4 separate regions of the Homo sapiens genome follow, and all the other regions are linked to region 1. The links are contacts of gene promoters, found by promoter capture Hi-C in human tissues and cell types (Jung and others, 2019). All regions are on one chromosome and are shown on one strand. Each heading gives the region's core, a stretch centred on a gene start or on the middle of the fragment in contact. The rest is flanking DNA. Distances are from core to core; before and after follow the strand shown. Region 1 holds the start of DDA1 (DET1 and DDB1 associated 1). Region 2 holds the start of NWD1 (NACHT and WD repeat domain containing 1). Region 3 holds the start of SLC5A5 (solute carrier family 5 member 5). Region 4 holds the start of JAK3 (Janus kinase 3).

Region 1 (6,725 bases), core at 1,713-4,212:
CTGGCCCAGCTTGCCCCTGCTGGACTCCCATCATACACACCCTCTGCCACACACACCCTCTAGGAATGCCCCTCATGCCTCCATGTGGCAAATACCTGCTAACCTCCCCACCAGCTCCAACACCCTCCCTGGCCCCTTTGTTCCCCCGACACTTCGGGAGCCTCTCCCAGAGCCTCCCTCACACCCCGGCGAGGTCATCTGCTTACATGTCCACCTCCCTGGCTGGACTGGTACCTCCCCAAGGGAAGAGGACAGGACAGGGCTGACTGAACCCTGGCCGGGCTCACACAGGGCCCGGTGGCTGAGTGGCGAGAGGTGCAGGTACTCCGGGCATTCTGCTCTCAATCCTGGCTTAGCCCGTCCCTGGTTGTGTGACCTGGGACGAGGGACTTCCCAGCCTCTGGGCCTCCCTGTGAAGAGACGCATTCCAACAGGGCCACCTCCCAGGGTTACTCTGAGTCATAAGACAACAAGGGGAATGCTTTGCACAGAGCTCCCTCAGGGGCAGCCTTTAGGATCAACATGTCTGCGTTGGACAAATGAATGAAGGCAGGGTACGTGCAGCCTTCCTGTCATGCTAAGCTGGAAAACAAGGCCTCGAGACATGGGGGCAGGGGGTGGGGGAGGCCTCATTCCAGACAAATGCCAGCCACGGCTGGGCCCTCACAGGTGCCTCAGCAGACACGCACTGGACACCTGTGTGCCAGTCCCACTGCAGGTAGCCTGCCAGAGACCCAACAAAGAGATGAGAAAGAGAAGCAGTACACTAATAGCAGAGAACTGGGGGCCCCCCAAAGTCAGGAATGACCTCGATCACAGGAGGAAGAGTGTTCCGAGCAGAAAGAGCAGCAGGTGTAAAGGCCCTGGGGTAGCAGGAACCTGGAGTGTGAGGAAGTGAAAACAAGGCCAGGGTGGCTGAAGCTCACAGACAGAGTGGAGAAGAGAGTGGAGATAAGGTCATAGAGGTGGCCAGGGGCCTCAGGGTGAGGAGGGGAGCCGCCAGGGTTCCTGGAGCATTTTATAGGCTAGAAAGTGGTATCATTTGATGCACATCTTTAAAAGCTCCTTCTGGCCGGGCGCAGTGGCTCACACCTGTACTCCCAGCACTTTGGGAGTCCGAAGCGGGTGGATCACAAGGTCAGGAGTTCAAGACCAGCCTGGCCAATATGGTGAAAACCTGTCTCTACTAGAAATACAAAAATTAGCCGGGCATGGTGGTGGGTCCCACCTACTTGGGAGGCTGAGGCAGGAGAATGGCTTGAACCCAGGAGGCGGAGGTTCCAGTGAGCCGAGATCATGCCACTGCACTCCAGCCTGGGCGACAGAGCAAGACTCCATCTCAAAAGAAAAAAAAAAAACAACCTCCTTCTCAGGCCCCATGCAGTGCCTCACACCTGTAATACCAGCACTTTGGGAGGCTGAGGCAGGATCACTTGAGCCCAGGAGTTTGAGACCAGCCTGGGCAACATAGGGAATCCCCATCTCTCCAAAAAGTACAAAAATGAGCCTGGTGTGGGGATCTCTTGAGCCTCCAGTCTGGGCGCCAGAGTGAGACCCTGACTCCAAAAAAAAAGTTCCTTCTGGTTCAGGTGAATTATGAACTGCCAAAGGGGTGAGAGCAAGGCTAGGAGACCAGGGAAGAAGCTGGGACAGGTATGCAGGTGGGAAGTGGCAGTACCTGCAACAGGGCATGAAGCCATGGATGAATTCAGGTGTGTTCAGAAGGCAGAGACAATCTAATCCACTTATGATTGGCTGTAGGGATGAGACTGTACCAAGGTATCAAGGACAACTCCCAGGCTTGGGGACCCGCACACTAGGAACCCACCTTCCCATTTCCTTCCTGAAAGGGAGTCTTCCTTTCATCCCCACCACATCCCAAGGACTGTGGATTGTGGGCTGGGACTCTGGGTCAGGGGACAAAGGAGACTTGAGGTATCTTGACCAAGCTTCCCATCACCCTTCCCAGCCCTCAGGATGCCAACTAATGGGGGTTGTGGAGAGGCTTTAGTTCCACTCTGAGGGTGGGTCACCATCCCACTTTTCAGGTGGGGAGACTGAACCCCGAAGAACCACCAGACCCAAATTCCAGGATGACTGAGGAACCCTGAAGGAATTTCAACCTTCCAACAGCCAGGTGGGGACGATCCACACTTCATAATGAGGGGACAGCTAGAAGAGAACGTCACTGGCCTCGAGTCACCCAGCTCATCTGTTGAGCATTCACTATCCTGAGTCCTTTACGACGTCAGTTACCTAAATTGTCACCACCCTAAGAGGTTCAGACTACTGCTACCCTCATTTCACAGGGACAATCCATGCGGATCGGAGATAAAAGTTTTTCATTCTTAGAGGCGGGTAAGGGCCCAGAATGGTGGAGGTGGGGTCAGGGCCCGGGGAACCGGGACAATCGGCGATGTCGCACTTCCTTTGGCGACAAAGCCCTGCATATCGCGGTGCCAAGCCCCCTCCCCCGCCCCGGGGCCCAGGCCGGCCTCCCAAATTCTCCTGAACTGAAGAGATCCAGGTCCGGCGTGCTGAGAACGAGGCCAGACCAGGGGGTCTTACGGGACCCCATCCCCACCCCAGACGATTTCCGGGGGGAGCCGCAACCCGGAAATGAATGAGTTGTCAGGGCTTGGTATCCTGGATGGGGTCAGGGGTCGGAGAAGGAGTGGCAGTGGGATCAGCAGGAAGCTCTCGGTAGGGTCCGGGGGTCGAAGGTCACAGGTGAGTGGGAGGGGCGGGCCGGACCTGAGGGGACCGGGCAGAACGGAGAGGGGCCTAGGGGGATACTAGAGGTGGGTGGGACCACAGCGCCATTTTGTCTAGCAGAGGGGGAGTGGGGGCCTGGAGGCCATCCTCACCATCTTCTGTTTCCTCCGTCGCCGCCTCGGCCGCCGCCTCAGCCTCCACCGCCGCCACCAGAGCCGCCTTCTTAGCCGCCGCCTCACAGTAACTTCCAGCCACGGCACAGCCCACACTGATGGCGCCACCACCTCCCTGTCATTGGTGTGCAGTCTAGCCCCGCCCCCACATAGGAGCGCTTTGCACGCTTCCATTGGCCGCATCCAGCTAACTCATGCGCCCATTGGTTGCCACGCCTCCTCCCATTGTGGTCAAGTTCGGTTGAAGAAGCAAAGCACCTCCCGGTACTTGGAAGCAATGAAAGTGAGATCCGGAAGTGGGCGGAGGCCTCGGCCGCGAAGTCTCTTGGGAGCTGTAGTTTACAGCTCCGCGAGGCTCTCTAGAGCTTTTGTGTGTCTGTGTGTTTTTAAGATGCGAGGTTCGGCCGGGTGCGGTGGCTCACTCCTGTAATCTTAGCACTTTGGGAGGCCGAGGCGGGTAGATCGCCTGAGGTCAGCAGTTCGAGACCAGCCTGGCCAGCATGGTGAAACCCCATCTCTGCGCCTGTAATTCCAGCTAGTAGGGAGGCTGAGGCAGGAGAATCACTTGAACCCGGGAGGCGGAGGTTGCAGTGAGCCAAGATCGTGCCATTGCACTCCAGCCTGGGCAACAAGAGCGAAAATCAGTCTCAAAAAAAAAAAAAAAAAGCCAGCCGGGCGCAGTGGCTCACGCCTGTAATCCCAGCACTTTGGGAGGCCGACGCGGGTGGATCACGAGGTCAGGAGATCGAGACCGTCCTGGCTAACACGGTGAAACCACGTCTCTACTAAAAATACAAAAAATTAGCCGGGCGTGGTGGCGGACGCCTGTAGTCCCAGCTACTCCGGAGGCCGAAGCAGGACAACGGCGTGAACCGTGAGTGAGGCGGATCTTGCAGTGAGCTGAGATCGCGCCACTGCACTCCAGCCTGGCGGACAGAGGGAGACTCTGTCTCAAAAAAAAAAAGGCGGGGCACGGTGGCTCACGCCTGTAATCCCAGCAATCCCAGCACTTTGGGAAGCCGAGGCGGGCGGATCACGAGGTCAGGAGTTTGAGACCAGCCTGGCCAACATGGTGAAACCCCATCTCTACTAAAATACAAAAATTAGCCGGGCGTGGTGGCGGGCGCCTGTCATCCCAGCTACTCAAGAGGCTGAGGCAGGAGAATCGCTTAAAACCAGAAGGCGGAGGTGTCAGTCAGCCGAGATTAAGCCACTACAGTCCAGTCTGGGCAACAAGAGCTAAACTCCCTCTCAAAAGAAAAAAAAAAAAAAGACACAGGGGTCTTGCTATGTTTCCCAAGCTGGTCTCGAACTTCTGGCCTCAAGCAATCCTCCAGACTTGGCTTCCCAAAGTTCTGGGAGCCATCGTGCCGGCATCTTCTTGTGTTTATTACGTTTTTAAAGCAGCCCTAGAAGATAAGAACCATAACACTCCCTAGCTCCTCCTCGACACCGTCTTGCTCAACCACCTCCCGTAACTCCCTAGTATTCAATCCCACCTCCTTGGCCCCATTTATGGGCACCTGCGGTCTTCATTGCCCACCTGTGTCCTCACCTCTAACCAATTCCTTCTATGTCTGGGCTCTCCCAGACCTTGCCATTTCCTCCAAGACTTCCCTGACTGCATTCTTCAAAAAGGCAAGTCAGGTACCTTCCCTGAAGTCCTACAGCCCTCACAATCCCCCTCCCAGCCCTGACACCTCTGTGTCCAAACTGCCTTCCTGACTTCCAGGGCAAAGAATGGGCACCCAGCACACAGCAATTGCACAGTGAAGTTGCTAAGTGGAAGCTACTAAGTATTATTACTCCAACAGCAACAGAGCAGAGGAGAAACCAGCACTGCATTTTATAGGCGACAAATGCACCTCACAGTGTTAAATTCTTGCTCAAAATCAAACATCCCCAAGGGACAAGTGGAAGATTCAAACTCCTTATGGGCTGGAGTTCAAGACCAGCCTGGTCAACATGGTGAAACTCCCCTCTACTAAAAATACATAAATTAGCTGGGCGTGGTGGCATGCACCTGTAATCCCAGCTACTTGGGAGGCTGAGGCACCAGAATTGCTTGAACCCAGGAGGCAGAGGTTGCAGTAAGCAGGGATCCGACAACTGCACTCCAGCCTGGGTGACAGAGCGAGACCCTGTTTCAAAAACAAACACCCCCCCGCACACACACACAGTTTTCCACCAGTCTTCCCAGACCTATAAAATTTATGACACAGGCTGGGCATGACGGCTCACACCTGTAATCCCAGCACTTTGGGAGGCCGAGGCAGGCAGATCACCTGAGGTCAGGAGTTCGAGACCAGCCTGGCCAACATGGTTGAAACCCCGTCTCTACTAAAAATACAAAAATTAGCCGGGTGTGGTGGTGGGCGCCTATAATCCCAGCTATTCGGGAGGCTGAGGCAGGAGATTGCTTGAACCCAGGAGAGGGAGTTTGCAGTGAGCCGAGATCGTGCCACTGCACTCCAGCCTGGGGGACAGAGCGCAGTGGTTCATGCCTGTAATCCCAGCACTTTGGGAGGCAGAGGAGGGCGGATCACCTGAGGTCGGGAGCTCGAGACCAGCCTGACCAACATGGAGAAACCCCATCTCTACTAAAAATACAAAATTAGCCGGGCGTGGTGGCGCATGCCTGTAATCCCAGCTACTCGGGAGGGTGAGGCAGGAGAATCGCTTGAACCCGCAAGGCGGAGGTTTTAATGAGCCGAGATCCCCCCATTGCACTCCAACCTGGGCAACAAAAGGGAAACTGTCTCAAAAAAAAAAAAGAGTTATGACACATATAAGGCAAGTGGAACTTTGAACATTTATTACACGTTTAATAATATTTCAAAATTATTGATAATTCTTTTGGATGTGATAAGCTTTGTAATTGTCTTTTAATGAGCTCTCATCTTGGAGAGATACATTCTGAAATATTTACAGAAGAAATAATCCGATGCCTGAGATCAGCTTCAAAAGAACTCAGGATGGGGCAGGGACGGGTTGTAGGTAGTCGGTAGTCAGGGTACTGGGTACACGGATGTTCTTTGTACTGTTCTTTGGTCTGTTGCGCAGGTTCGAAATGCTTCCTAATTAAAAAGCCTAAAAAGGGACTTGGCAAGCTCCCATCCAGACTTCAACCCCACAATATGGAGAGCACTCAGGTCCGAGGCGTTCCTGCTCCCCAGCTCCCTGCAAAAATAGCGCCAGGCAAGGTCCGAGGCGAGGGCGATGCTTCCATGAGGGTCCCGCCGACTGCGTCGCGATCCTCAATGGCTCAGCGACTTGCGGCCCTTGAGCATTCGGCGAAGGATGACCTGCACGCCGGCCGGCGTGCTCAGGCGCCGGACCCAGCCGTGCTTGTTCTTGCGTTTGATGTTGCTCGGCTGATACTCATTCCCGCGAGCCTTGCCCCGGGCCTGCTGCGGGGTGGGGAGGCCCCAGGCGTCTGGGAACCCCAGCCAGGCCCGGGGCTGGAGCCACCTGCGTGGGTAGAGGGACGGCGAGAAAGGTCAGACGGGGCGCTGGGTGACCTTGGCGCTCAACCTCTCTGAGCCTCGGCTCCCGGAGACAGAGCCTGGCTGCAAAATGCGCAAGGCACTGGCAGGTCACGCGGGCAGTGAAGAGTGGCGCCAGCCTCCGAAGCCGCCCTTATTCCCTGATTTGGGGAAGGGTCCCCCTGAGGACTTACCTGCCACCCAGCAACGCTGCCGACCTACTCGTGGGGCCCAACAGGGATCCAGCCAAGACAGCCATATCCGCAGTGGGTCCCGCAGTACCGGCTGCGGGCGATTCCGGAGCCCAGAGCCGCTCCAGCCCTGGAACAAAGGATTATGGGAAATGTAGTTT
Region 2 (6,725 bases), core at 87-2,586, 590 kb after region 1:
CACCAAAGTCGTCACAATTAAAAAGTATCCCTAGGCTGGGTGCAGTGGCTCACACCTCTAATCCCAGCACTTTGAGAGGCCAAAACAGGCAGATTACTTGAGGCCAGGAGTTCGAGACCAGCCTGGCCAACATGGCGAAACCCCATCTCTACTAAAAATACAAAAATTAGCTGGCGCGGTGGCATGTACCTGTAATCCCAGCTACTCGGAAGCCTGAGGCAGGAGAATCGCTTGAACCCGGGAAGCAGAGGTTGCAGTGAGCCGAGATCGTGCCACTGCGCTCCAGCCTGGGCAACAGAGCAAGGCTCCATCTCAAAAAGAAAAAGTCTCGGCCAGGTGCGGTGGCTCACGCCTGTAATCCCAGCACTTTGGGAAGCCGAGGAGGGCAGATCATGAGGTCAGGAGATCGAGACCATCCTGGCTAACACGGTGAAACCCCGTCTCTACTAAAAATACAAAAAATTAGCCGGGCATGTGGCGGACACCTGTAGTCCCAGCTACTCAGGAGGCTGAGGCAGGAGAATGGTGTGAACCTGGGAGGCAGAGCTTGCAGTAACTGAGATCACGCCACTGCACTCCAGCCTAGTGACAGAGCGAGACTCCGTCTCAAAAAAAAAAAAGTCTCCCTAGACATTGCAATGTCCCCTAGGGGGCAGAATTCCCCTTACTCGAGAACCCCCTAGTCTAATGCATTTAGCTTATTTCAACCTCAGGGCCTTTGCACGTCCTGTACTTTAGTGCTCTATGCTGCATCTGTTCATGTTGTTCACATTTTAGCTTCAATGCTACCTCCTCCTGAGAGGCTGTCTCTGACCATCCCATTGCGTAGTGACCCCTTAAGTCACTCCCAATGCCATCGCCTTATTTTAATTTTCTGCATGGTACTCACCAACAGCTGATATGTTTCTACATGTTATTGTTTGTCTGTCCCACGAGAAAGTGAATTCCATGAGCCCAAGGATCTTGTCTGGTAAGGCTGGCGTGCCTGGCACATAGTAGGTGCTCAGTAAATTATCATCACAACAGCTTCCTCCACAACTGTTTCTCTTTCTGGACTTCTGTTTGTTGCTGAAGAAGACAGCTGAGCAGGACTGGGCTTCCCCAGTAAGGACAGAGGCCCTTTGCAGTGTCAGCGTTCTGGCTGTCCTGGGGGCTCCAGCCTCTCTTTAGCCTTTGCTGGTAGTTGAACGACCAATTTAGACTCCTCTGGGGAAATAGGTTAGAGAGGACAGTTTCCTGGCCTCGGCGCCACCCGGAAGACAAGCCCCTGGCTATCCTAGTAACTTTCGTCTTAGGTATTTTATGGGTCTCTCCTTGCCCAATTCTCCCAGCAACTGGGATAATGAAAGCGATTGTTTGCACTAGGGCACCAGCTTAGCCGGGCATTCAGCCCAGACTTAGTGGTTAACTATTGTGTGCCAGGCTGATACGGCTCCTCGTAAAAGATGCCATTTGCTGACAGTCTAGGAGGTGCAGTTGGTTGGCATTTGGCATTAGCAGTCCACATTATTACCCCAAGAGACAGACATTATGATCCTGTTTCACAGATGAAGAAAACAAGATGCAGAAAGGTGAAGTCCCTTGCCTGTGACGCTTCACTACTCTGCACTTGAATTTTCTCACTAACTTCCTGTGTTGGTGAGACAATGAAAAGCATTTATATAGAGAGTGAGACTAACACTACACCTACATCACAGGAAGGGCCCGTGAGATGTTAGCCATGATTAATTACCATTAAAACTCCAAGACCGGGCACGGTGGCTCATGCCTGTAATCCCAGCACTTTGGGAGGCCGAGGCAGGCGGATCACCTGAGGTCAGGCATTCAAGACCAGACTGGCCAATATGGTGAGACCCCTATCTCTACTAAAAATAGAAAAATTAGCTGGGCGTGGTGACGCATGCCTGTAATCCCAGCTACTTGGGAGGCTGAGGCACAAGAATTGTTTGAACCTGGGAGTTGGAGGTTGCAATGAGCCGAGATCCTGCCACTGCACTGCAGCCTGGGCGACAGAGCAAGACTTTGTCTCAAAAACTCACAAATCACCCGGGCATGGTGGCTCACGCTAGTAATCCCAGCACTTTGGGAGGCCAAGGCAGGCAGATCACGAGGTCAGGAGATCAAGACCATCCTGGCTAACACGGTGAAACCCCGTCTCTACAAAAAAAACAAAACAAAACAAAACAAAAAATTAGCTGGGCGTGGTGGTTTGCACCTGTAGTCCCAGCTACTCAGGAAGCTGAGGCAGGAGAATGGCATGAACCCGGGAGGTGGAGCTTGCAGTGAGCCGAGATCGCACCACTGCACTCCAGCCTGGGTGACAGAGCGAGACTTTGTCTCAAAAACTCACAAGTCACCCAGGCATGGTGGCTCACGCCAGTAATCCCAGCACTTTGGGAGGCCAAGGCAGGCAGATCACGAGGTCAGGAGATCAAGACCATCCTGGCTAACATGGTGAAACCCTGTCTCTACATAAAAAACAAAAAACAAAAAACAAAAAATTAGCTGGGCGTGGTGGTTTGCACCTGTAGTCCCAGCTACTCAGGAAGCTGAGGCAGGAGAATGGCATGAACCTGGGAGGTGGAGCTTGCAGTGAGCCGAGATTGCGCCACTGCACTCCAGCCTGGGCGACAGAGCAAGCCTCCATCTCAAAGAAAAAGTAATAATAATAGTGTTACTATATTTTCAGGGATAGAAGTTTCAGATACTTGGTCAGGCGCGGTGGCTCATGCCTGTAATCCCAGCACTTTGGGAGGCCGAGGTGGGCAAATCACCTGAGGTCAGGAATTTGAGACCAGCTTGGCCAATATGGTGAGACCCCATCTCTACTAAAAACAAAAATTAGCCAGGCATGGTGGCAGGTGCCTGTAATCCCAGCTACTTGGGAGGCTGAGGCAGGAGGATCACTTAAACCTGGGAGGCAGAGGTTGCAGTGAGCAGAGATTACGCCATTGCACTCCAGCCTGGACGACAGAGCCACACTACACTCCATCTCACAAAAAAAAAAAAAAAAGAAGTTTCAGGTGCTGCCAGGCACAGTGGCATGCTCCTGTAGTCCCAGCTACTGGGGAAGCCAAGGTGGGAGGATCACTCAAGGCCAGGAGTTCAAGACCAGCCTGGGCAACATAGTGAGACCCTCATCTCTACAACAACAACAATAACAAAAAATTAGCTGGGCGTGGTGGTGTGTGCCTGTAGTCCCAACTACTCGGGAGGTTGAGGTGGGAGGATTACTTGAGCCCAGAAAGTCAAGGCTGCAGTGAGATATGATTGCCTCACTGCACTCTAGCCTGGGCAACAGAGCAAAACCCTGTCTCTTTAAAACAAAAAAAGAAAAAGAAAAGAAAAGAAGTTTTAGGGGCTGAAATTTTAGGAAACATACTGTCTCCAATACTCCAAGCAATCTGGGGGCTTCAATTTACTATCCCAGTTCATTGATGATGAAAACAGGCTTCCAGACCAACGTGATGAAACCCTGTCTCTACTAAAAATACAAAAATTAGCTGGGCGTGGTGGTGAGCACCTGTAATCCCAGCTACTCGAGAGGCTGAGGCAGGAGAATCGCATGAACCCGGAAGGCGGAGGTTGCAGTGAGCCGAGATCACGCCATTGCACTCCAGCCTGGGTGACAAAGTGAGACTGCGTTTAAAAAAAAAAAGAAGAAGAAAGAAAATAGGCTTCAAAGAAGTTAAACAATTTCCCAAGTTTCCTTGGCAAGGAAGTGAGCTAACAGCCAAATTCGGATATGATTCCAAAACTCCACAGTTATTGGCTAAACTGGAATCTACAGATATTAAAAAATTATTGGCAAAGTTTTTGCAGTGTGACAATGGTATTGCGGTGAGGTTTTTGTTTTTATTTTTGTTTTTGTTTTCGAGACAGTTTTGCTCTTGTCATCCAGGCTGGAGTGCAATGGCATGATCTTGGCTTACTGCAACCTCCGCCTCCCACGTTCAAGCAATTCTCCTGTCTCACCCTCCCGAGTAGCTGGGATTAGAGGCACCTGCCACCACACCTGGCTAATATTTTGTATTTTTAGTAGAGACGGGGTTTCACCATGTTGTCCAGGCTGGTCTGGAACTCCTGACCTCAGGTGATGCACCCGCCTCGGCCTCCCAAAGTGCTGGGATTACAGGCATGAGCCACCATGCCCAGACTGGTTAGGCTTTTAAAGAGTCTGGGCCAGGTGCAGTGCCTCATGCCTGTTATCCCAGCAGTTTGGGAGGCCAAGGCAGGAGGATCACTTAAGCTCAGGAGTTCAAGACCAGACTGGCCAACATATTGAGACTCCATTTTTACAAAAAATTAAAAAATTAACTAGACATGGTGCATGTGCCAGTGGTCCCTGCTACTCTGAGGTGGAAGGATCACTTGAACCTGGGAAGTTGAGGCTGCAATGAGTCGTGATCACGCCACTGTGCTCCAGCTTGGGCAACAGAGTGAGACCCTGTCTCAAAAAAAAAAAAAAAAGAGTGTGTATGTTTTAGAGACATATAACAAAATATTTATGGAATGATAAGATAGCTGAGATTTGCTTCAAAATAATACCTGACAGGAAGGCAAATGGGATGGGGGCGGGGTTGGCGAGGTTGAGTAGGGGGTGATGGTGGTTAGGGTGGGCTGCGGTTCATTATACTATTCTGCCTACTTTAGTGAGTGTTTTAAATTCCCTATCAGAATATGCTTCAATTTTGTACTCTTAAAAAATAGTGGCTGGGGCCGGGCACACTCCCAGCACTTTGGGAGGCCCAGGCGGGATGATCACTTGAGGCCCAGAGTTTGAGACCAGCCTGGCCAACATGGTGAAATCCCATCTCTACTAAAAATACAAAAAAAAAAAAAAATTAGCCAGGCGTGGTGGTGCATGCCTGTAATCCCAGCTACTTGGGAGGCAGAAGCAGGAGAATTGCTCGAACCCAGGAGGCGGAAGTTGCAGTGAGCTGAGATCACACCACTGCACTCCAGCCTGGGGGACAGAGCAAGACTGTCTCAAAAAAAAAAAAAAATAGTGGCTGGGAATGTTGGCTGACGCCTGTAATCCCAGCATTTTGGGAGGCTGAGGCAGGTGGATTGCTTGAGCCCAGGAGTTCGAGACCAGCCTGGACAATATAGTGAGATCCCATATCTACAAAAAATAAAAATTCACCAGACTTGGTGGTGCATGCCTGTAGTCCCAGCTACTGGGCAGGCTGAGGTGGGAGGATCACTTGAGCCCAAGAGGTTGAGGCTGCAGTGAGCTATGACTGCACCACTGCACTCCAGCCTGGGTGACAGAGCAAGACCCTGTTTTAAAAAAAAAAAAAAAAATCGTGATTATCCTTATGCATTGAGTAACCACGAGCCCAGGGCTAGGGGATTTCTGTGTAGTCAACCTTAGAACCAACACAGGGGTTAGGAGTGCCAAGCTCACCCCTACAGTCAAAAATCTGCATGTAACTTTTGACTGCATGTAACACCTACTATTGACCAAAAGCCTTATTGATGACATAAATGGTCGATGAACACTGATTTTCTACATTCTATGTATTATATACTGTATTCTTGCAATAAGTAAGCTAGAGAAAAGCAAATGTCACTAAAAAAATTCTGGTGTTTTGTTTTTGTTTTGTTTTTTGTTTGTTTGTTTCATTATTTGAGATGGAGTCTCACTCTGTTGCCCAGGCTGGAGTGCAGTGGCATGACCTCAACTCACTGCAACCTCTGCCTCCTGGGTTCAAGCGATTCTCCTGCCTCAGCCTCTGAGTAGCTGGGATTACAGGCGCCCACCACCACGCCTGGCTAATTTTTGTATTTTTAGTAGAGGCAGGGTTTTGCCATGTTGGCTAGGCTGGTCTTGAACTCCTGGCCTCAGGTGATCCACCCGTCTTGGCCTCTAAAGTGCTGGGATTACAGGAGTGAGCCACTGTGCCCGTCCAAACTTCAAAGGAAGAGAAAACATATTTACTATGGATGAAGTGGAAGTGGATCATCACAAAAGTGTTCATCCTTGTCGTCTTCACCTTGAGCAGGCTAAGGAGAAGGAGAAGGAGGAAGAACAGAAGGAGGGCTTGGTCTTGCTGTCTCAGGGGTGGCAGGGGTGGAAAAAAATCCACGCCTGAGTACATCCGTACAGTTCAAACTCGTGTTGTTCAAGGGTCAACTGCACTTCCTTCGTCATCCCTGCGTGGCTAACATTATAATACCCACTTTGCAGAAGAGGAATCTAAGCTGGAAGATGTTAACAAACCCAATTAAACTGACTAAGGAGTCCTGGCTGAGCATGAGTGGGGAAGCAGCGCCCCCTCGAGGCCATCACGCGAATGACCAGAAGCAGCTTGAACCCAGGGCAGAGTCAGAGGAGAGGCTGCGGAGAGGCGCTGGACAGGGAGCAACATTGGGGGAGAGCGGTAAAAAGAGAAAAAAGCAACAAAGATAAAGAATATTTTTTCCAATTTTTTTATTGTGTCCAAATAATACATAATATTTAAATACTTTTTTTTTTTTTTTTGAGACGGAGTTTGGCTCTTGTTGCCCAGGCTGGAGTGCAATGGCGCAATCTGGGCTCACTGCAAACTCCGCCTCCCGGGTTCAAGCGATGCTCCTGCGTCAGCTTCCCGAGTAGCTGGTATTATGGGCACCCGCCACCACACCTGGCTAATTTTGTTTTTTTTTGTTGTTGTTTGTTTGTTTTTTGTTTTTTTTTATAGTAGAGACGGGGTTTCACCATGTTGCTCAGGCTGGTCTCG
Region 3 (6,725 bases), core at 2,416-4,915, 560 kb before region 1:
TAGAGATGGGGGCGGGGGGGGGTCTCACTATGTTGCCTAGGCTGGTCTCGAACCCCTGGCCTCAAGTGATCCTCCTACCTTGGCCTCTCAAAGTGCTGGGATTACAGGTATGAGCCACTGTGCCCAGTAGAATTAAACAAGTTAATAAGTGAAAAAGATTTGGAATATGACTTGACATATACGAGTGTCAGTGAGTGATTGCTGCCATTACTATTATTATTATTATTATTATATTTTTTTGAGATGGAGTCTTGCTCTGTCGCCCAGGCTGGAGTGCAATGGCGCAATCTCCACGCACCGCAACCTCCACCTCCCGGGTTCAAGCGATTCTCCTGCCTCAGCCTCCTGAGAGGCTAGGATTACAGGCGCGTGCCACTGCGCCCAGGTAATTTTTGTATTCTTAGTAGAGACGGGGTTTCATCATGTTGGCCAGGCTGGTCTCGAACTCCTGACCTTAGGTGATCCGCCTGCCTCTGCTTCCCAAAGTGCTGGGATTACAGACGTGAGCCACCGCGCCCGGCCGCCATTACTATTATTATCACTACGATGATAATATCGCCATCAAGGTCAGACCTGAGCCAGCCAAAGGTAGCCCTCCCTGGGACCTCAGCCAGCCCCAGGATGAAGCAGGAGCTCACTTCCTGCTGGACTGGAAGCCAGAAGAGGTGGAAGCCTGGATCCAGCCATGCCTGAAGCTACCATACCTCTAGATTCTCAGCAATAAGCTTTTCAGATCATTTTTCACTATAAAGATGAGGACACTGGGTCCCAGCTGGGACAGAGGCTTCCTCAGGAGAAAGGGGCAAGCCCAGAGTCTCCCCACAAGAGACACAGTGGGCCCGATCCCCCGTATGGAGTGAGTTCCCAGGGCCACTCACCACAGCCGTGTAGAAGGTGCAGATAATTCCGGTGGACAGGAGCGACGCCCAGATGTCCAGCCCGGTCACTATGCAAAAAGAGGTCCCCCTGTTAGGCCCCTGGGCGGGGCGCAAACTTAGTCTTGGGTTCTCCTCTCCCTCCCTTTCTCTTCCCAGACATGCTTCCCTAATCTCCCAGAGTCACACCTTGGTTCAGGATGAGGGCCGGTGCGTAGATTACGATGCCGGTGTACAGCATCTGTAGACAGAGTGTGGGGCGGGTGAGCAGGGAGGGCGTCTGGGCGAGTTGGGGATGGGGAGAGGAGGCAGAAGGGTGGTCCCAGAATATGGGCGGGGCAGATAGGCCGGGTCTTCCAGAGTGCAGGCGGGGTCAGGCCGGCTGTGGTGTGGGAGGGGACTGATGGGGGCGGGGTCAGAACGGGAGCATGGGGGGCGGGGTCTGGGCGGGGTCTTGAATGGTGGGGGCCGGGCTAGTGAAGGCTGACGCTCTCGGGGCCCTGAGCGGAGGGCGGGGCCGAGGCCACTCACCGTGGCTACAATGTACTGCAAAGTCCCGCAGAGCCGCACTGCGCGGCTGAAGCGCATCTCCAGGTACTGCAAGGAGGGACTCGAGGTCACCTGGACAGTCCTTACCCAGGAGCCGAGGCCTCTCGGGTCCCTGGTCTGCTCTCTAGGTGGGCCCCTCCCTCCGGAAGCCAACCGCGCCCGCCAGATTCTTGCACGTGGGGGCCCCGCCGCACGCACACACCCGTGCACAGGTGCCATCCCGTGCCTGTGCGTACCCCGTGGACCTGGAGGACTGGTCCATGCGTGTGCACGCGCCCTCCCACTTGCGCCTGACGGGCGCGGGCTCCTGGAGCAGCCACCGCTCAGCAGACACCGACGTGGCCCGCAAGCGCACAGTGTAGACAGTGCCCCGGGCCAATGGTGTTGGCCGCCTAGGATATACCTGTCACGATTTTTTTGGGGGGGAGGGGGGACGGAGTCTCGCTCTGTCGCCCAGGCTAGGGTGCACTGGCACGATCTCGGCTCACTGCAACCTCCGCCTCCCAGGTTCAAGCAATTCTTCTGCCTCAGCCTCCTGAGTAGCTGGGATTACAGGCGCGCGCGACCATGCCCGGCTAATTTTTGTATTTTTAGTAAAGACGGGGTTTCACCATGTTAGCCAGGCTGGTCTTGAACTCCTGACCTCGTGATCCACCCACCTCGGCCTCCCAAAGTGCTGGGATTACAGGCGTGAGCCACTGCGCCCTGCCACAATATTTTTTTTTCCTTTGAGACAAGAGTCTCGCTCTGTCGCCCAGGCTGGAGTGCAGTGACGCGATATCGGCTCACTGCAACCTCCCGGGTTCAAGCAATTCTCCTGTCTTAGCCTCCCAAGTAGCTGGGATTACAGGTGCCCACCACCACATCCGGCTAATTTTTGTATTTTTAGTAGAGACGGGGTTTCGCCATGTTGGCCAGGCTGGTCTTGAACTCCTGACCTCAGGTGATCTGCATGCTTTGGCCTCCCAAAGTGCTGGGATTACAGGCGTGAGCCACCGCACCGGGCCCCGGTCACGATTTTAATCGCTTTACCCTCTCCCCTGGAGGGAGGTCCTGTAATTCGCCCATTGGACAGCTGGGAAACCCAAACAGAGAGGCACGCCCCTTGCCCAAGATACAAGAAAGCAGTGAAGCCAGGTTTCGAACCCCGGAGCCGTCAGCAGTCCCCTCTAGCGCGCACACGTGGGTCTGCACGCCCGGGCAGGTGGGGGGCAGGTGTGTGTCCACCCGTGAGGACACACCTGGTCGAGCCGGGCCCCGCCCCGCGCGCGCTTCCACCGAAGGAGCAGGACGCCAGGCTCTCTCTTCCTCCTTCCTGCCCCTCGCCGGGCGCCTGGGGCCTCTTCCTAGAACCCTCCCCACGTGTCTGCCTAGGGGCCCCTTCCGTTAAAGCACCGAGGTGCCATCCGCGTCCTCCTGTACAGCGGCCCAAAGCCCCAGCGCCTCCCCCACACGGGGTCCCAGCACTGCCAGTGGGGCAGGTCCTACCCCCGGGCCTCTGTCCGGTACCTCGTAGGTGCTGGTGAGGCCCAGGCGGTAGAAGACGGGCATGAAGAGCAGGGCGGTGAGGACCGAGTTCAGAAGCTGGCCCAGGCACATCCAGAGGAACTTGAGGCCATAGCGATAGGCCTCCGACGGCACGCCCAGCACCTGCACGGCCGACATGAAGCTGGCAGACAGCGACAGGCCCACGGGCAGGGCCGCCAGGCGCCGGCCCCCGGTGAAGAAGTCCTCAGCGCTGCGCTGCCCGCCCCGAGCCAGCCCGACCCACAGCCCGATGCCAGTGGACACCAGGAGCATGAGGGCAAAGACCCCGTAGTCCCAGGCTCCGAAGGTGGGCCGTTCCCCGGTCTCCACGGCCTCCATGAGGGCGGGTGCGGAGGCCCAGCGCGTCCTCGGACGCCCTGCGTGCTCAAGCGGGGGAAGCTGGCAGGGGCCGAGGAGGCAGGACGGGGAGGGCGGGTGGGAGGATGCTCGGCAGCCTGTCCCCGCTCCGTCTGGGGTGGGAAGCGGCGAGAGGGGCCGGGGCTCCCTGGGTTAGGAATCTATGGGCTGTCGATGTCCGTGTCGGCCTCCCTGTCCCCGCTGTCTGTCTCTGCGTCCGCCCCTGCTGTCTGTCTGTCCTGCCACCTCCCCTCTCACTCTGGGTTCCGCTGTCCCATGCAGCCGGCTGTCTGTCCCTCTCCCTGGGCGCTGTGCTCAGCGCTGACAGCTGGAGGTCGCCTTGGGGCTTACGGGAGCAGCTCGTGATTGTGGGTTGCAGATTTATTGGGCTCCCGGGTCACCGCGACTCCGCCTCCAGACCTAGGGGCGGGCAGGACCCGCACCCTTTCAGCCCTGGACTGGGACAGACAGGCCAGGACAGGCTATCTGGGTGGCTGCAGGGGGTGGTATCGGGGAGGGCTCCCAAATGCCCCTCCATCCCCATGCACCCACCCATCCCCATGCACTGTGATCCCCTGATCACAGCTGTCACTGTCTGCTGTTGACAGGTGGGGAAATTGAGGCTCAGAGAGGGCATGTCACTATCCAAGCCTGCACAGCCTGCTTCAGCACTCAAAGCCGTATTGTGCTTGAATACCTTGAGCTATGGGGAGCTCACTTTCATGCAGGACTGGGGTTCACTTTCAGGGTTTCAGGGGACCCATAAAGAAAACTTACCTGGCTTTACCACCCCCAAACTGGCATGTGGGCCTACCCCCTTTCTCTAGAGCCTTAGGGGGTGGGCATCACTGAACCCCGCTCTTGGGCTAAGCTGGGTGGGAGACATTCAGAGCTCAAGTTCTGAGTGGGTACATACTTGGGGAAGACTTTGCTCCTCCCTGGGCCTTAGTTTCCCCATCTGTAACAAGGATAAAATAGACCCTGCCTCAGAGGAATAAATGGGACGTGGTAACGAAAGCCTGGTACATGATAAGTGCCTCATTCATTTATTCCTTTATTCATTTGTCACTTCATTCATTCATTCATTGGTTCCTTTGCAGATATGCACTGAGAGTTGGCCCTGTGCCAGGCATAAATGGCTCACTGAGGTGGTGCGAGGGGCCTTTAAGGTTATGAACCCGAATAAGCGGAGACCATGACCACCAGGGAGGTAGAGTCTGGCTTGTCCCTATCATATAGATGAGGAAACCAAGGTTGGGTGTGGGAGAAAGTCTACTGGGGGGGTCACGCTTCCATGAGGACCAACGAGCTGTCATCTCAGGGCCCTTCTCTGGGGGACCCAGGAGGACTTTGACCTCTGGAGGTTCTGGTCTCTGGGTTCAAGTCTCAGCTCAGCCTCCAACTTTCTGGGCAATCACGCATCTCAAACTTGGTTCCCTTCTCCATAAGCTGGTGGAATCTGAAATCCTGGGGGTTGAAAGAAACAGCGTCAGAGGCCGGGCATGATGGCTTATGCCTGTAATCCCAGCACTTTGGGAGGCTGAAGTGGGAGGATCATTTGAGTCCCAGAATTCGAGACTACCCTGAGCAACATAGTGAGATCTTGTCTGTATGAAAAATACAAATATTAGCGAGGCGTGGTGGCACATGCCTGTAATCCCAGCTACTCAGGAGGCTGAAGTGGGAGGATCGCTTGAGCGTGGAAGTTCGAGGCTGCAATGAGCTGTGGTCGAGAACTGCACAGCACTCCAGCCTGGGCAGCACAGCAAGACCCCGTCTCCAAAAAAAAAAAAAAAAAAAAAAAAAGGGCTTTTGAGCGCTTCTCGCCAGCCTCTGCTGCTCCCTGGTGGCCTCCTCTGGCCTACCCTCTGCCCTGGCCGCTCCAGCTGGGTCCAGCGTTTCTCAACGCGTCCCCACGTAACCCCCGGACAGTCCTCTTGCTCCCTCTCTGCTGTGCAGGGTGGACCTGTCCCTCCCCCGGGGCTGTGACACTGCGGCGGCTACGCGGGCACCTGTTGCCGGCTGGAGCGTACCTCCTGCCCTCGCCAGGAGAGTGGGTTAGGCACCTAGTTCTTTCTCCTTCCACCCTGGTCAGGCATCCTCCTGGAAACCCCGTTGGAAAAGGGGAGATCCGGCCGGGTGCGGTGTCTCACTCCTGTAATCCCAGCACTTTGGGGGGCCGAGGCGGACGGGTCTCTTGAGATCCGTTCAAGACCAGTCTGGCCAACATGGTGAAACCCCGTCTCTACTAAAAATACAAGAATTAGCCGGGCGTGGTGGCGGCCGCCTGTAATCCCAGCTACTTGGGAGGCTGAGGCGGGAGAATCGCTTGAGCCCGGGAGGTGGAGGTTGCAGTGAGCCGAGATCGCGCCACTTCACTCCAGCCTGGGCGACAGAGAGAGATTCCGTCTCAAAAAATAAATAAATAAACAAATAAATAAATAAAAATCAAGGCTGGGCGCGGTGGCTCACGCCTGTAATCCTAGCACTTTGGGGGGCCGACGCGGGCGGATCACGAGGTCAGGAAATCGAGACCATCCAGGCCAACGTGGTGAAACCCCGTCTCTACTAAAAATACAAAAATTAGCCGGGCGTGATGGCACGCGCCTGTAGTCCCAGCTACTCGGGAGACTGAGGCAGGAGAATCGCTTGAACCCGGGAGGCGGAGGTTGCAGTGAGCCGAGATCGTGCCACTGCACTCCAGCCTGGCGACAGAGCGAGACTGTCTCAATCAATCAATCAATCAATCAATGGGAGATCCGAGCGGGATCCCCTACTTGCAAAGCCCTGCCGACCAATGTAAACATATGCAAATTGTGCAAATACATGTAAATGGACCCCTTCTCTCCAGGGAAGTTCTGGGAAGGCATAGCTTCTCTTCTTCCCACCGTGGGGTCCAGGCTGCGGCCAGAGGCCTGGGCTGAGGCCGGTTCATTGAGTGCATACTGTGTGCAGGGCCCTCCGGCAGGTGCTGGGGACACAGCATGATCCAGGTGGACCCACCCCAGGGTGGTGATGGCCCTGACCTCACCAGCAGATAAATACTGATTTCAGCTGGGCACTGTGGCTCACACTTATAATCCCAGCACTTTGGGAGGCTGAGGTGGGAGGATCGCCAGAGCCCGGGAGGTCAAGGCTGCAGTGAGCAGTGATCACACCAGTGAATTCCAGCCTGGATACAGGTTGAGCAGAGACAGACAATCACGGGGTATCTTCTGGGCCTCCGGAAGGGGTGTGGATTTTGTTCTGAGGGTGCTGGGGAACTGTAGGAGAGTTTGGAGCAGGTGAGGAGTCTGATGAGATTTCTAGATTCTGAAAAATGGGTCATATCCAAGTGGCGGGAGTGGGGTGGCTGCCGAGTGGGGGGAGGGGGGTGGATTTGGAAAGCACTTTGGAATTCCTAAGGAGGCCTGGAGT
Region 4 (6,725 bases), core at 2,384-4,883, 540 kb before region 1:
TCCCATGTTGACTTCCCAAAGTGCTCAGATTACAGGCATGAGCCACCGTGCCTGGCCCTGCCTCACTGTACTCTTAATTTTCATTTGGCAAGTGAAGCTGAGGAAATTTTTCTGGGTTTAAGAGCTATTTGTCCTCCATTTTCTCTGACTTCTGGATTCATATCCACCTAACTGGTTGGCATTTTCTTACTGCTTTCTAGATGTTACTTATATAACGAGGATATTTTATCCATGAGTTCAATTTTGTTTCCAGTTACACTTTGATTGTATTTTATTCTTTGATTGTATTTATGGACTTCTTGTCAGCAGAAAAATCTGGGTGTTTGCATCACTGACGTGCCCCATTTTTCTCGGGCAAGTTCTGGGTTCTGTCCCCAGAACTTCCTTTTTTTAAAAAAAATTATTTATTTATTTATTTATTTTTTGATACGGAGTCTTGCTGTGTCGCCCAGGCTGGAGTGCAGTTGTGCGATCTCGGCTCACTGCAACCTCCGCCTCCCAGGTTCAAGTGATTCTCTTGCCTCAGCCTCCTGAGTAGCTGGGACTGCAGGCGCCCGCCACCACACCCAGCTGCGTTTTGTATTTTTAGTAGAGATGGGGTTTCACCAGGTTGGCAAGGCCGGTCTCGAACTCCTAACCTCAGGCGATCCGCCCGCCTCGGCCTCCCAAAGTGCTGGGATTATAGGCGTGAGCCACCGCGCCCGGCCAGAACTTCCTTTTAGAGCCTTCACATGCCCTTCTCTGGGGCTGAAGGTACCACTTTGGTCCTCACCCCAATCTCCTCTTACTTATTCTCAAAATATTGCAGAAACCATCACACTGGAGGTAGCAGAGACCCAGAAACTCACTGTACTTCCGGAAAGCAGAGGCTTCAGCCTCAGGCCAAGGATGAGAACATAAGGTTGCATTCCCGTCTGCTGAAGCCACCCAGGAAGTGAAAGAAAACACTACAACTAAGCTTCTGCTTGGCACTTCCTGCCGCAGGTCAGCTGTGGCTCCACTAAGCTCCACTAAGCTGAGGACATAATCTATATCTCTTTCCCTTGACCCACGCGGCCCTACCCACGCCATCAAATGAGTCTCAGCCCCCCGTGTCCCTGACATCCTGCTCTTCTCAGGAACACTGTGAATTCGTGAAGCCTCCAGGCCTTTGCCTGGGCTGTTCTGCCTGCCAGAACTGCCCACACTCCCACATTCTCAGGTCACTCTCTGGCTAGTCCCACTTGTTGTTGGATTTCAGAATCAAAGCCACCTCCTCCAGGAAGCCCTCCCAGATCCAGTCATCTCTCTTAGCAGACCGGTCCCAGGGGCAACTGATATAATTATTGGGCAATAGCTTGTTTATTGCCATCTCCCCTGCTGGACTGTCAGCTCCCCTGGACAGGGATTGGGTCTGCATTGTCCCCGATTCCCTGCACACAGGCTGTGTCCAATAAGCCTCTGGCTGATTGAACAGTTAAGATCAACAAAATACTTACCAAACCATTTTGTGTTAAGACTTGTGATGGTGATACAGAGATGAAAAGTCTTTTTTTTTTTTTTTTTGAGACGGGATCTCACTCCCATTGCCCAGGCTGGAGTGCAGTGGCATGACCACAGCTAACTGCAGCCTCAACTTCCTGGGCTCAGGTGATCCTCCCACCTCAGCCTCCCCTAGTAGCTGGGACTACAGGCACATGCCACCACATCCAGCTTATTATTTTGTTGTTGTTGTATTTTTTGTAGAGACAGGGTTTCACCATGTTGCCCAGGCTGGTCTCGAACACCTGGGCTCAAGCCATCCTCCTGCCTGAGCCTCCCAAAGTGCTGAGATTACAGGTGTGAGCCACTGTTCTTGGCCACAACTTCTTAAATCTATTCCTTTTTTTTTTTTTGAGACAGAGTATTGCTCCGTCGCCCAGGCTGGAGTGCGGTGGCACAATCTCAGCTCACTACAACCTCCGCCTGCCTCCTGGGTTCCAGTGATTCTCCTGCCTCAGCCTCCCAAGTAGCTGGGATTACAGGCACATGCCACCACGCCCAGCTAATTTTTATATTTTTAGTAGAGATGGGGTTTCACCATGTTGGCCAGGCTGGTCTCGAACTCCTAGGCTCAAGCAATCTTCCCACCTGGGCCTTCCAAAGTGCTGGAATTACAGATGTGAGCCACTGTACCCGGTCACCACTTCGTCAGTCTATTCCTGAAGCTCTACTTCCGGGGCTCTGATCCTATTATCCTAAGAACACTGGCCCAAGTCTCTGCATTTGGATGCTGCCCGGGCCTTCTGCCTCTTCTATTTATAACAGCTCCTACTTCCAACTCTCCTGTGGCTCCAGATTATGCTCCAGGCAAAACCCACCCTTCTCCCAAAGACCCTGATCCCCCTGTCCCCCCACGATCTTGCCCCTGTTGACCGCCCTGCAGTCCCCTTCCCCCTCATCTCACCCCTGCCCCTGGCCTCCTGACTGCTCTTCAAGCTGCTAAGATCACTGCCCTCTCAAGGTCTTTGCCCATCCTGTGCCCTCCTCCTGGAGCACCCTTTCCCTGGCCAGCTCCCTGTCCTGCCTCGGGTCCAAGTTCCAGTCTGTGCCTGTCCTGACACCCTGGCTTTCTTTGTTGTCTGCGATGATTTGGCTCCTTCATTTGCTCATTGTCTCAGCGCCAGATCACAAGTTCCAAGAGGCCAGGCCGGATCCACCTGGTTTTTTAGGGCTGGGCCCAGGGCACCACAGGCAGAAATGGGTCATTATCTCTCCCTGAGTCTTTTCTTTTTTTTTTAAACGAAGTCCCGCTCTGTTGCCAGGCTGGAGTGCAGTGGCGCCATCTCGTCTCACTGTAACATCCGCCTCCTAGATTCAAGCAATCCTCCCACCTCAGCCTCCTGAGTAGCTAGGATTACAGGCATCACCAGGCCTGGCTAATTTTCCTGTTTTTAGTAGAGACAGGGTTTCATCATGTTGGCCAGGCTGGTCTCAAACTCCTGACTTCAAGTGATCCGCCCGCCTCAGCCTCCCAAAGTGCTGCGATTACAGGCCACCACGCCTGGCTAATTTTTGTATTTTTAGTAGAGACGGAGTTTCGCCATGTTGGCTAGGCTGGTCTCAAACTCCTGACCTCAAGTAATCGCCCGCCTCAGTCTCCCAAAGTGCTGGGATGACAGGCGTGAGCCACTGCGCCCAGCGTCTCCCTGAGTCTTAAGGGAGAAATACCTCAAAGAAGAACTTGACCTTCCTCTGGGGCAACTTCCCTGCTTCCCTCCTGGGCAAATCCAGCCAGGTTTCCTTCCCTGGGTGCAAAATTAGTTCCACTGGGTGCCCAACTCACACATGCTACAGATGGGTAAACTGAGGCAATAAGGGCCGGGCCAGAGCCCCACTTAACAAGTGGGTCTAGAGTCGGCTGAGCCCCTGGTGTGACCCAGACCCTTCTCTGTGCTATCATCAGTTCCTTTGGCTTAGGGGTCTCCAGCAGCCTGTCTGAACGGGGCGGCTGATGCAGAGGCTTCCGGAACTTTCTGCCCCTCCTTGCCCGCCTCCCCGCCCCCAGCTCCCGCAGGGCCCTGACTTTCGGTAAATGACAGTGGCTCAGGAAACCAAGGGGCCCACACAGGAAGGAGCCGAGTGGGACTTTCCTCTCGCTGCCTCCCGGCTCTGCCCGCCCTTCGAAAGTCCAGGGTCCCTGCCCGCTAGGTAAGAGCTGGCGATGCCGCAGGGCTCGGCCCAGACACTGGGGGAGGATGGTGGTGGCGGGGGATGGCTGGGCTGGGGCAGGGTGCTGCCAGGGCAAAGGCTAGCTCGCCTTCCAGGCCTCGGAGGAAAGCTGCGAGGCAGACGTGAGCCGAGACTCGCATCCTCCGATCGCTCGCTTCTCTGGGCTTCGGCTTTGACTAAGGCCGGGAGATGCCTGCCTTGCGGACCTGGAGGAGTCATTGCGCATGCGCGACGGGGGCTGCGGGGTTGGGGGTGGGGAGGAGGGATTGGGAAGGAGGGATTGGGGGGCGGAGTTCCCAGCCCCTACCCTCCAGGCCTTCCCGGTCCAGACACAGGGTACCCGACCATACCAGGATGCAGAACGTTGAGGATTATAAACAGGGGATGCCGAGGCGGGAGGATAGCTTGAGGCCAGGAGTTCAAGGCCAGCCTGGGCAACATAGCCAGACCTCCATTTCTACAAACATTTTTAAAAAACCAAAAAAACTATGGCGTTTTCTGGGACCAAACATCACCTCTGACTTTTCATTTTTTTTTGTTACAGTATTACAGAATAATAATATTCTGTTAAGATTTTTTTGTTGTTTTGGAGATGGGAGTCTTGCTATGTTGTTCAGGCAGGTCTCTAACCCCTGGCCTCAAGCTATCCTGCTGCCTCAGCCCCCTGAGTAGCTGGGATTGCAGTGGGGCGCCACTGCCACTGAAGCCTTATTTTAAACTCGACTGGGGCTGGGCACAGTGGCTCATGCCTTTAATCCCAACACTTTGGGAGGCTGAGGCCAGCGGATCACTGGAGGTCAGGAGTTCGAGATCAGCCTGGTCAACATGGTGAAACCCTATCTCTACTAAAAACACAAAAATTAGCCAGGTTTGGTGGCGGGTGCCTGTAATTCCAGCTACTCAGGAGGCTGAGGCAGGAGAATCGCTTGAACCTGGGAGGTGGAGTTTGCAGTGAGCCGAGATCATGCCACTGCACTCCAGCCTGGGAGACAGAACAAGAATCCGTCCTCCCCCCTACAAAATAAATAAATAAATAAAAAGGCTGGGCAATGTGGCTCACGTGTGTAATCACAGCACTTTGGGAGGCCAAGGCAGGCGAATCACCTGAGGCCAGGAGTTTGAGACCAGCCTGGCCAACATGGTGAAACTCCGTCTCTACTAAAAATACAAAAATTAGCTGGGCGCTGTGGTGCGCGCCTGTAATCCCAGCCACTTGGGAAGCTGAGGCATGAGAATCGCTTGAACCCAGGAGGCAGAGGCTACAGTGAGCCAAGATCGTGCGACTGCACTCCAGCCTGGGTGACAGTGCGAGACTCCGTCTCAAAAAAACAAACAAACAAACCAAAAAACTTGATTGGCTGATGTTGAGGGGACGATAGAGAGGCTATGGTGTGTGATTTTATTTCTATAAAGGGCAAAACTAGACATCAATCTCTCTGTGGGAGAGATGGGGCTCCTCCAAGGTTCCCGGGACTAGGAATGTGCTCATTCTTGGTCTGGGCATCGGTGACATCAAAGTGTCCCTTTGGTAAGGTTCTTTCCCCCACAAGACTTCCCTTCCCACAGTAACCACCACACCGCTGTGCCAATTGCCCTTCCTGTTTGGTTTAACAGGCGTTTGTTGATCGCTTACCGGCACATCATCAAGAAATATACAAATTAATGCACATTAATTGAGTTGACACTTTAGGCCTGGATTGCGCTCAGCAGACCACCTCAATGAGGATGCTGGGGAGTCAGCCCATTTCACAGCTGCGAAAGCTGAGTCCTAGGGGTCCTAGTCCTCTGATTGTCTTAAACCTCATTAGGCCAGGCGCAGTTTCTCACGCCGGTAATCCCAGCACTTTGGGAGTCCGAGGCAGGAGGATCACTCGAGGTCAGGAGTTCCAGACCAGCCTCGCCAACATGGTGAAACCCCGTCTCTACCAAAAATACAAAAATTAGCCGGGCATGGTGGCGTGCCCCTGTAATCCCAGCTACTTGGGAGGCTGAGGCAGGAGAATCACTTGAACCCAGGATGCAGAGTAAGCCGAGATTGTGCCACTGCACTCCAGCCTGGATGACAGAGCTAGACTCTGTCTCAAAACAAAAACAAAAAAACCCTCATTAATGCCGCCCCACCCCAGCCACAGGGCATTATTTTGGATCATAGTTTTTGTATTGTGTTTTTTTTCTAGAGATAAGGTCTTGCTCTGTCGCCCAGGCTGGAGTGCAGTGGTGTGATCATAGCTCAATGCAGCCTCAACTTGCAGAGCTGAAGGCATCCTCCTGTCTCAGCCTCCCAAGTAGCTAGGACTATGGGGGTGTGCCACCATGCCCTGCTAATTTTTTAGAGATGAGGTCTCAAAATCCTAGCCTCAAGTGATCCACCTGCCTCGGCCTGTCAAAGTGCTGGGATTACAAGGCTTTTTTTTCTTTTTGAGAGGAGGTCTCACTATATTGCCCAGTCTGGTTTCAAACTCCTGGTCTCGGCCAGGCGCGGTGGCTCACACATGTAATCCAGCATTTTGGGAGGCTGAGGCAGGCTGATCACTTGAGGCCAGGAGTTTGAGATCAGTGAAACCCCATCTCTACTAAAAATACAAGAAAATTAGCTGGGCGTGGTGGTGCCCACCTGTAATCCCAGCTACTGGGGTGGCTGAGGCACGAGAATCTCTTGAACTTGGGAGGCGGAGGTTGCAGTGAGCTGAGATTGCGCCACTGCACTCCAGCCTGGGTGACAGCGCGAGACTCTGTCTCAAAAAAGCAAAAAACATAAAACAAACTCCTGGTCTCAAGCTATCCTTCCTTCTTGGCCTCCGGAAATGATGGGATTACAGACATGAGCCACTGCGCCCTGCTGGAACTTAGGTTTTTGTTTGTTTTTCCCAACACTTTCTTCAGATCTTCTTCATTCAGGTCAATTTGAGTGACCTCCTTTTTCTCCCCAATTTTTCTCAGGGGACTCGAAGCCCCACCCCTGGCCCCACCCAGCTGAGGGCCCTGAGTGCTGAGGTTTCTCAGGGCAAGTGAGCGAGCGGGTGGGAGGTGTTGGG

Evidence for each region. Contacts are between HindIII fragments. The study calls those that stand out against the background at their distance.
Region 2: the fragment with the promoter of NWD1 here is called in contact with the fragment with the promoter of DDA1 in region 1 in 2 of the 25 tissues and cell types used here (dorsolateral prefrontal cortex and hippocampus).
Region 3: a contact is called between the fragment with the promoter of SLC5A5 here and the fragment with the promoter of DDA1 in region 1, in 1 of the 25 tissues and cell types used here (mesenchymal stem cells).
Region 4: the fragment with the promoter of JAK3 here is called in contact with the fragment with the promoter of DDA1 in region 1 in 3 of the 25 tissues and cell types used here (H1 embryonic stem cells, mesendoderm cells and spleen).

Annotation. Positions count from the first base shown.
Region 1 is chr19:17,305,800-17,312,524 of GRCh38, reverse strand. It overlaps DDA1 (DET1 and DDB1 associated 1), which reads right to left and starts at 2,962. Exons shown (of 5, transcript NM_024050.6): 1 at 2,868-2,962. The coding sequence starts at 2,870. It overlaps MRPL34 (mitochondrial ribosomal protein L34), which reads right to left and starts at 6,653. Exons shown (of 2, transcript NM_023937.4): 1 at 6,568-6,653; 2 at 5,682-6,359. The coding sequence starts at 6,632. The coding sequence ends at 6,146. RefSeq lists enhancers at 1-308, 2,534-3,097, 3,187-3,376, 3,098-3,659, 6,630-6,709 and silencers at 2,647-2,746, 6,340-6,399. The HindIII fragment of the contact is 11,596 bases long and covers 1-6,479 here.
Region 2 is chr19:16,714,458-16,721,182 of GRCh38, reverse strand. NWD1 (NACHT and WD repeat domain containing 1) reads right to left here and starts at 1,336. Exons shown (of 19, transcript NM_001007525.5): 1 at 890-1,336. The HindIII fragment of the contact is 25,691 bases long and covers 1-6,725 here.
Region 3 is chr19:17,868,885-17,875,609 of GRCh38, reverse strand. SLC5A5 (solute carrier family 5 member 5) reads right to left here and starts at 3,665. Exons shown (of 15, transcript NM_000453.3): 1 at 2,934-3,665; 2 at 1,407-1,472; 3 at 1,065-1,116; 4 at 879-946. The coding sequence starts at 3,290. RefSeq lists a silencer at 1,201-1,330 and enhancers at 1,123-1,895, 5,543-6,196, 6,197-6,725. The HindIII fragment of the contact is 15,663 bases long and covers 1-5,761 here.
Region 4 is chr19:17,844,890-17,851,614 of GRCh38, reverse strand. It overlaps JAK3 (Janus kinase 3), which reads left to right and starts at 3,633. Exons shown (of 24, transcript NM_000215.4): 1 at 3,633-3,669. The HindIII fragment of the contact is 13,300 bases long and covers 1-6,725 here.